Linked DNA regions of Homo sapiens: all the other regions are linked to region 3. The links are contacts of gene promoters, found by promoter capture Hi-C in blood cells and fetal thymus (Javierre and others, 2016). All regions are on one chromosome and are shown on one strand. The core of a region is centred on a gene start or on the middle of the fragment in contact, and the rest is flanking DNA. Distances in the headings are between cores, read along the strand shown. Region 1 has its middle 15 kb from the start of MIR4657. Region 2 overlaps ADCY1 (adenylate cyclase 1). Region 3 holds the start of RAMP3 (receptor activity modifying protein 3).

Region 1 (3,021 bases), core at 60-2,559, 290 kb after region 3:
AACCCCATCTCTACTAAAAATACAAAAATTAGCCAGGTGTGGCGGAACGCACCTGTAATCCCAGCTACTCGGGAGGCTGAAGCGGGAGAATTGCTTGAACCTTGGAGGTGGAGGCTGCAGTGAGCCGAGATTCGCACTGCTGCACTCCAGCCTGGGCGAGGTGACAGAGCTAGACTCCGTCTCAAAAAAAATAAATAAATAAAATGAACAAGTCACTAAATGAAGTGATTCTCTGCTGATAATTCACTGGATGAAGGAGTACTGGGATCCAATTGGCCTTATGAGATGATGGCTAAGTTTAAGAATAAGAAAATGTATTGTCTTTACTGGCTTGTTGTATGACCTTAAGTGAGTTGTTTCTCTGCATAAAAAAATCCCTGCCCTTATTTACATCTAGCTGCTTCTGGCCTTGAAGCTTTGGCTTGGAATTCTGAAAGAGTTTTTTTTTTTTTAATTGGGTCCTCTATCATGCATAGTTCAGAACATAAAGGCAGGTTCCTCACCTTCTAGTATAAATAACATAAAAAGAGAAAGCATGCTAGGTGTTCTGGCAGAATGGCAGAAAACAAACTTCTGAAGGAAGAAGAGCTGTTGTCAGCGATGTGGAATGTTCTAGTCCAGCAGCTGCTGATTTTCTGGCAGTGAAAACCCAGCTGGTGACATCACTTAGGCAAGTGACTCATCAGAGCAGTGCTCTCATTTATCTGCTCCTCATCTGACACCACATCTTTTCTGGTGGGGACTGCAAACTCTATTTTGATTACACCTGCTGAACTCTCCCAAACCTTTGTCAGCTATAGGTTTTCTCTTTTGTGGGCAAGACTTAGGATAGAAACAAGCGTGGGAATTATCAGGGTTTGTTGCAGTGTTTTATATTGTACCTACCATTTTGCCTTCAAAGGTCACACTTTAAGGGAGCCAGGGCCAGGCAGGTGGCTCCTGATCCCAGCACTCTGGGATGCTGAAGTGGGTGGATCGTTTGAGTTCAGGAGTTCAAGACTAGCCTGGGCAACATGGTGAGACCTCACCTCTATTAAAAAATATAAAAAATTAGCCAGGCATGGTGCCATGTGCCTGTAGTCCCAGCTACTTGGAAGGCTGAGGTGGGAGGATCACCCAACCCTGGGAGATCAAGCCTGCAGTGAGCCATGATGATACCACTGCACTCCAGCCTCGTCAACAGAATGAGACCCTGTCTCAAAAGAAGGGGGGCTTGGGAGTGGAGCCAGCTCTCTCAATTTCCCTGCAAGCTGCTCCCATCCACCCTCTGAGGCTACGCCTGACATCATTGCTGGGGTGTGTTCTAGAGCACCTTCTCTCCATGACTGTGTGGGTTTTCTCTGGGTACTCTGGTCTCCTCCCACATCCCAACGATGTGCAGGTTAGGTTCATTGGCATGTCTAAAGTGTCCCAGTCTGAGTTCATGTGCCGTGTGTAGAATAGCATTCAGTCCAGGATTGGCTCCCACCTTGTACCCTCAACTGCCAGGATAGGCTCCAGCCACCCACAACCCTGAACTGGAATAAATGGGTTAGAAAATCAATGTATGGATAAATGAATACAAATTATTATAAAATAAAAATTGGTAAAGAATATGATAATTATACAAATGCATGACAATAGGCAATGAACAATGAGGAATGAAATTGCTCAGTGAGCCTGCCAAATGTGTGATTGTTTTTTAACTGTGTGGTAGCAGAGGCCATTCCTTACAAATTTTGCTTTATAAACATTTATTCCTTAATTTAACCCACCCCACTGTGACAGTCATCACTCATTCATTCACCAAAAATGAGGCAAATAATTATCCTACTTGTTTTTATTAATCTTTTTTTTTTTTTTTTTTTTGAGATGGAGTCTCACTCTGTCATCCAGGCTGGAGTGCAGTGGCATAATCTCAGCTCACTGCAACCTCCACCTCCCAGATTCAAGCAATTCTCTTGCCTCAGCTTCCTGCATAGCTGGGACTACAGGTGTGCGCCACCATGCCCAGCTAATTTTTTTTGTATGTTTAGTACAGACTGGGTTTCACCATGTTGGTCAGGCTGGTTTTGAACTCCTGACCTCAGGTGATCTGCCCACCTTGGCCTCCCAAAGTGCTAGGATTACAGGCGTGAGCCACCGTGTCCAGCCTGTTTTTATTAATCTTTCTTAAATGTATGTATAGCTCAAATTTATTTCAATGTTTAATATTAGAAGCTTTTTGGGTCTTTATTTAGAAGTTTGGTAATGTTTTTGTGACCAGAAATATGCTGTAGGAACTTAACTCTTGTTTATATCAATTACCCTGTCAACCTGAAAAAAAAAGACACTAGAAAAAAATTAACTCTAAATATGTTGGGTGTTGGGTTTACTCTGGAATAGAAATAAGGATTATAATCTAGAGTGCAGCTGGGCGCAGTGGCTCACATCTGTAATCCCACCACTTTGAAAGGCTGAGGTGGGCAGATCACCTGAGGTCAGGAGTTCGAGATCAGCCTGGCCAACATAGCGAAACCCCGTCTCTACTAAAAATACAAAAAAAAATTAGCCAGGCATGGTGGCATGCGCCTGTAATCCCAGCTACTTGGGAGGCTGAGGTAGGAGAATCGCTTGAATCTGGGAGGCAGAGATTGCAGTCAGCCAAGATCGCGCCACTGCAGTCCAGCCTGGGCGACAGAGTGAGACTCTGTCTCAAAAAAAAAAAAAAAAAAGAAAAGAAAGAAATCTAGAGTGCATGAAATGGCAAGCTACAAGTGCATTTAGTGAGGGAAGGGTGAGGGGAGCTTTTATTAGCAAAAAGAGATTACATAAGCTGCTTGGAAACAGAGTTCATCACTTCCAGAGGTTCAAAGCCAGAGTTGTCAGTTCCTTGGTGGAGATGCAAGTGTTCTTTCAAGAACATCTTAACCGAATTACTGAAATCCTAAAGAATGTCTAGTGATAAACCTTATCAAAGCAGGAGATTTGTGAAGGATATGAAAGGATTTTTAGAAAGTCCTTGGAAACAGTTCTTATTTCAGATATGCAAGCATGAGCCTC
Region 2 (2,931 bases), core at 212-2,711, 490 kb before region 3:
TGTGCTCTGTGCATTCAGGCCTGCTTCCAAACATCCCCCAAATGTCCCCAACGGTCAGACACAGGCCTGAATGCACAGGGCTTGCCAGGAAGGGGAAGCGGCCACACCTCATACTCAGGCTTCCTCCACCCAGCCCTTGCCACCTCCCACCCCCTCCCTGAGATTAGAAACCCCGTGAGCACTCACAACCTGTGATGATAGCCCTGACACATCAGGATTTCTTCTCAGAGGCCCAAATGAGGGCTCAAGACCCCTCTGGGAGCCCACAAGAGCCACAATGCCCACTGGCTGCTGGAACTCTTCTTGCACATGGTTTTGGGAGGGTCACCAATCCCCAACTCTAAGGACCTGTGCTCTGGACGTCAAGGACTTTGAGGGTGATGTGGGTCCCTGATCATCCCTGCATCTCATGTGCGTGAGTGGACTCAGGGATTGTGGGCAACTGCTAGTGTCCCTGCCCCCACCTCAGCTCTGAGCTGTGTTCCCAGCATCCTTCCAGGGTCCCGTGGTTACCAGGGCCTCCTGGTCATCTCTGTGAGTCCAGAACAAGCCTATCCCTGGAGTGGGACAGGTGTGCAGGACAAGGCTGCTGAAGGGATGAGTGTGCATGAGTGAACAGGCCAGTCAGATCTGATGGTAGCAGGGCCTCCAGGGTAAAAGGCAAAGGTGGGGCCTGTCAGTACAGCTGCTCCAAACAGCCCACCCTGTCAACCCAACTATCCTATTTGACACCAAGACTTGGCATGGCCACCGCAGAAAAGGACATTGCTGTGGGGCTGGCTGGGGTGGAATCTTCAATTACCATCCCTACAGGAGTCCTATGTAAAAGGAGGCATAAATAGCACACGGGAATGAAGGCTAAAGAGATGCCCACGGAGCCTCAAGTGTGACCGTCACTGCATGGTGTGGGCGAGCTGTGAGTGGGGAGAACCTATCTCTGCATGAGGACCAAGGGCAAAGCCATCTAGCACAGGCTATCCACATGCACATGGTCATGTGGCAAGGCCTTACAAGCAGATGAGGGCTTGTGTATTCTAAAGAAATTGTCCAGAACACTTGTCTTTAGAACAGCAATCCTCTCCTAGAACCTGGGCAACTCATACCATACACACATGTGTGCACATATCCAGCTCACTCAGCATCACACATGAGTCTCTGGAAACTGTTCTGAGATGCAAAGCTGAGAACCCTCCTGGGCCCTCATGGCATCCCTTTCCCACCCACCTCCACCACGCTGGCACTAGTGGAGACAGCTTAGGACAAATGTTGAATATATTGCTTTATTTTGTCTTTAATCTCAGAGGCCCTGGCTTTTGTTAGCAAGCTTAAGAGATCAAAAAAGGTATTTCTAATTGGTTTTAGTGTTTCTGATTTTAGACTCTTTTGTATAAATATGGAAAGTCAGCACCTAGAGTCCACTGCAATAAAGCACCACAGGAAGTGTTGTGTCTCCTCCAAAAGAAGAAAGAAGAAGATGAGATGGAGGGTTGGCAGGGGCTCAGAGGCATGTTCAGCCCTAAGGGACAAGAGCTGCCCCCTCCCTCCCAGGCTTGAAAGGGACAGGACTACAGGCAGGTGACATGACAACAGAAGCTTCTCAGTATAACAGAGCCACTGCAGGAGAATCCAGATAGGAAAGTCTCCTGATTTGCTCCAGGTATGGCCTAAAGAGCTGCGGCCAGCTTGCAGACAGTCTGGGCCCATCATGGCCTTGACTGAGCAGGCAGCCACAGAGAAGGGTCTAGAACAAAAAGGGCTCACATAGGCCAGTGCACTCTGACCCTGCCCAGCCCCAGGACCCGTCCCAGAAGGGCACAGAGGTAACGTCTAGAAGAAAGCAGAGAGTCAGTGGCTCAGGAAGATCCACTGCCAATTCCAGAGCTCTGACATGCCCAGGCCGCTCTAGGGCCAGCTCTAAAACAGTAGAGTCCAGAGAGGTCATGGACTCGCACACTGCATCCCAATTCTAAGAAAACAGATACCTGGGAGAAGGAGAGGATGAAAAGCCTGAATCAATCCAGTTTTTGCCCGAAAGTGACTGCATCCAAAACCCAAACTGGCCAAGTCCAATTAACTTTGTAAGACTGGAGTGTTTGGCTATCAGTGGAAGAACGAAATAAGAAATTTTAGAAAACCCTAGAGGAAGCTTCCTGCTACAGAGATAGCGCAGAAGAGCTGAAACACAAGAACTCTGCAGACACCTGTTCATCAACAGGATCAAATCAGGTCCCCGGAAGCCTCCCTGCCTCAGGGGAGGACTGAGGAATCAGCGTGCCCTGTTGGGAAGCACTCTCCAGGAACAGTTTCACAGTGCATGCACTACCAGCATCAAAAAGAAACCAAAAGGAACCATGGAGGGGCAAGGGGAAACCCAGCACAAACATCTAACTACACGCACGGGAGGAACAGTGAGCAAGGGAGGGGTCTCTCCATGTACCTCGACTTCGGTTTTTTACTGTGGAACTGAACCATGCAATTATTTTATGTGCCTAAAAAGAAAAATTAAAAACAGTTATACCTAAAAGATCAAAACCAAAATGAAATAAACCTGTTACCAGCATGACCACAGAGAGAAGAATTATTTCGAGCGATGAGAAAATGCATATTTGACTGTATGTCTGGTAGAATATAATGCAAGGACAAAAATAACCACAAAGAAATCTCCAATTGCATTCAGCAGACTTATTGTTGAAAATAATATTGGCAATGTTATTTTGAGCCTACTATATATGGAAAGATGAAATAAATAATATTACTGTCATTAGAATTTTCAGCATCACCAAAAAGATACAAATATAAAAATCCAAGGAGTGAAGTGAATTGGAAATATCAATATAAACTCATAATTTATTTTTATTTTCCTAAAAAAAAAATCCTATCTCAATGCCCTAAAAAGCCTCGGACCAATTACAACCCAGATTATGGTGTTGA
Region 3 (3,203 bases), core at 595-3,094:
TAATCTTGGGATCATGATCAGGATTTTCACCCAGACCAGAAGAGTCCAGTCAAGAGCTGGGCACCACAGCAAAGTGTCCTGCTGAGTAGACAACTGCTGGACTTCGCATCCCCACAGCCCCACACAGCATCAAATGCTTTCTGGAAAAAGGTCTGGAATTCTCAAAGAAGCCCCAGAGGCCTGCACCCTCCCTGCTGGTCCTCCTGAGCTAGTCCTCAGTCAAGAGGAACCCACCCAGCTCCTTCCTTCCAGACACAGCAGCATCCAGGGCAGATGTGGGTTCCAGTCCCGGATACCTCTGACACATCGGCCTGGGACCATGAGCAAGTTTTACCTCTCCCTGAATCTCACTCTGGCCAGTCGAACACTGGGAGGGTCTGCTGAGAAGCTGGACCTGGTCCCTATTCTGGCCAGGGAGCGTGAACCCATGTCCCATTGGAGGGGGACAGTCAGGACCAACACAACAGGACAAAGAAGTGGCCCTCAGGAACTGGGTCCACGAGAGACAGGATTATTAAGGGGGGATTCTGTGCAGGCGGAAGCCTGTGGTCCTTCTCAATTTGATACTGGAGATGATCAGGAAAGCCTCAGCTTCTCCCAGAATGAATTGAGAGGACCTTCCTTCCACTATAGCGACCAAGATCTCCACCTAAGGGGCGCTCACTGGAAGTTTGCTGAAATCCCAAATCAGCATGCTCCTGATTTCAGAAGCTGCCATCCACCTTTGCACTTCAACACAAAATCCACCACATCCTAGGCTCCAGCCCTGGAACACCAAATGAAGCCACACAAGTTCTGCACACCAAGACCTCTTCAATGGAAGGAAAATGACCACTGAGTTTGGTCCACCCTTTTCCCACCTCCCGTACCAAATCCCAAATCATCAAAACAGGCCCAACTCTGCATCTTACAGCCAGGGAAACTGGGGACCACCAGGCCAGGGCCCTCCATCACCAATGTCCCCCCCAGAACTGGCCAGGCTCAGTCACCACTCAGTGGACCCCAGCCCTCAGCAAGCACTCTTCCCCAACAGCCTTTACACACATTCTCTCTCTCTCTCTCTCTCTTACTTTTTCTTGGATAATTTCTTTAGCAAGGTACTTCAAAACAAGCTTTTAGTTTAATCTATTTCCATTTTGTGAGCAATGGTTCTTCCTAGAGTCCTGATTTCTTGCCGAAGAAGGCATTAGGAGAGGATGGCTCAGAGAGTCGCCCCGCTTCCCCTCTCAGCCAGTTCCAGGACACACACAGGCGTCCACACACTGAGGGGCCCTGGGAGGACCAGCTACCCAGTCCGGAGTCCACCCGCCCACGCCCCTGTGAGTGGTGGGCAGGCACTCAATGCCAGGACAGAGAGCTCACTACCTTACAGACAGCCCACCCTGGGGGATAAGGGGTAAAGAGCCAGACCTGGTCCACCTCTTCTCGCCCACCCTGAGGCGACCCCAGAACCGGGGCGTGGGGGGACATCACAACTAGAAGGACCGGGGGCTGCCGGACCCTGCCGTCAGAAGACCCCGGAGGGGGCCCTGTGCCTCCCTTGCCCGCCAGAGTCCTTCGCCTTCAGCTTCTCCCGGGTGGAACCCTCCCGCAGAGCCTGGGAATCCCGCCAGGGTCACTGTGCGCCCCTCCCGAGCTCCGGGGCAAGGGAAGGACCGCGGCGCAGGTGCGGGAAGGCGCGGGTCCACCCGGGTCCGGTGAACCCCGAGGAGTGGGGGCGCCCCCGGTGCGGGCCGTCGCCCCCTTACCGCAGAGCAGCAGCAGCAACGGGAGAAGTTGCGGGCGCCGCAGCGCTCCAGTCTCCATGGCTGGCCGGCCGCAGCTGGGTCACGCTCGGTCCCGCTGGGGGCGCGGCTGGGGGACGCCCGGTTGGGGTTGGGGTGGGGCGGGGCCTCAGGGGGTCCGCCCTCAGGCCGCACCCCCAGACCACGCCTGCGGCCGTGCCCCGTTGCCTCCAGATGTGGGGTGCAGTCCCTGCAGGCGCGCCGGGTGGGAGGGATGGGGGCGGCTGGAGTCTCAGCGGGGTGAGAGGGGGGCGAGGGCAGGGTTTCGAGCTGGGGACAAGCTGGGGTAAGGTGGGGTGCCGGCTGATGGGCTCTGAGGGCGGGGCTGGGGTGCTGAGCTGCAAAGGAGCTTTTTGGGAGCAGATTGTAGGGGCAGACTGGGAGGTGAGCTGGGGTGAGCGTGGGGGCCGGCTGACGGTGGGCTGGGATGCAGGCTGGAGAGACTTGGGGAACTTCCGTCCAGGCTCAGGGGCAGAGGGTGGGGGTAGACCGGGGAGGGAGCTGAGGTGAGGATGAAGCGCTGGCTGATGATGGCCTAGAGGAGTCTGGGGGTAGACTGGAGGAAGGTGGACCTGGGAGTGGGCTAGGTGTGCCCTGGCCGAAAGTAGACCAGAGTCCAGAGCTGCCCCCAGGCAGGGAGGGGAACTTTGAGCAGAGATACATCTAGGAGCCAGGTCTCCAAAGGTCAGGAAAGTGCATAAAAGAGGTTGGGGGGTGTGTGTGTGTGCGTCTGTGTGTGTGCGTGTGTGTGTTGTTCATGGAGTACGTGTGTGTGATGTGCATGTGGGGTGTGTGTAGATGCATGTGTGTGCATGGAGTGTGTGATGTATGGTGTGTGTGTGGCATGTGTGTGTTTGAGTCTGAGACAAGGTGTGTTTGTGAGTGTATGCTTGGGAAACAGTGTGTATGAGAGAGACTGGAGGGTGTGGCAACTACACACACAGAGACGTATCACACACCAAGAACCAAGCCACAAGCAAACCAAGGGACAGGAGAGTATCTGGCACCACCAAAGACCTGGCCTTGAAGAGTGTCAGGGTCCCTGAGGCGAAGGAGGGCCTCAGTTTCTCCAGCCACAGGTCACTTGGCCAGATGGGTCACCTCTGTCACCCTCAGCCCCTAGCACAGGCCCTGGCTCCAGTGGACACTTAATGGTGTCTTAAGAATTGTCACTGGTCAGGACTTCCGAGAGCCAGCTAGAGGCACCTCTCTGCCCTCCAGGGCCCACCCACCACCCCTGGGGGCACATGCTGGTCTGAGGTTGGGGCACAGGCCCAGGCTCCTACATGGATGGGCCCTCCACTCCTCTGAGCCGTAGGTACTGCTACCTTCCCAGGAGCTGAGCTGAACTTCTCCTGGCTTAGAAAGACCCACTTTATTTAACAAGACCCTTATTCGGGAGAAGAACTTTCTGTGCTT

What was found. The method cuts DNA at HindIII sites, captures the fragments that hold promoters and counts their contacts. A CHiCAGO score of 5 or more calls a contact.
Region 1: a fragment that was not itself captured here is called in contact with the fragment with the promoter of RAMP3 in region 3 in 1 of 17 cell types (non-activated CD4 T cells); the score reaches 5.0 in non-activated CD4 T cells.
Region 2: a contact is called between a fragment that was not itself captured here and the fragment with the promoter of RAMP3 in region 3, in 1 of 17 cell types (M2 macrophages). The highest score is 5.5, in M2 macrophages.

Annotation. Positions count from the first base shown.
Region 1 is chr7:44,865,138-44,868,158 of GRCh38, reverse strand. No RefSeq gene overlaps it. Among named protein-coding and RNA genes, the nearest start is that of MIR4657, 15 kb to the left of the region's middle. The HindIII fragment of the contact is 1,784 bases long and covers 418-2,201 here.
Region 2 is chr7:45,643,213-45,646,143 of GRCh38, reverse strand. The region is part of intron 4 of ADCY1 (adenylate cyclase 1); the gene reads right to left. Among named protein-coding and RNA genes, the nearest start is that of ADCY1, 70 kb to the right of the region's middle. RefSeq lists an enhancer at 1-442. The HindIII fragment of the contact is 269 bases long and covers 1,327-1,595 here.
Region 3 is chr7:45,156,432-45,159,634 of GRCh38, reverse strand. RAMP3 (receptor activity modifying protein 3) reads right to left here and starts at 1,844. Exons shown (of 3, transcript NM_005856.3): 1 at 1,749-1,844. The coding sequence starts at 1,806. The HindIII fragment of the contact is 23,160 bases long and covers 1,115-3,203 here.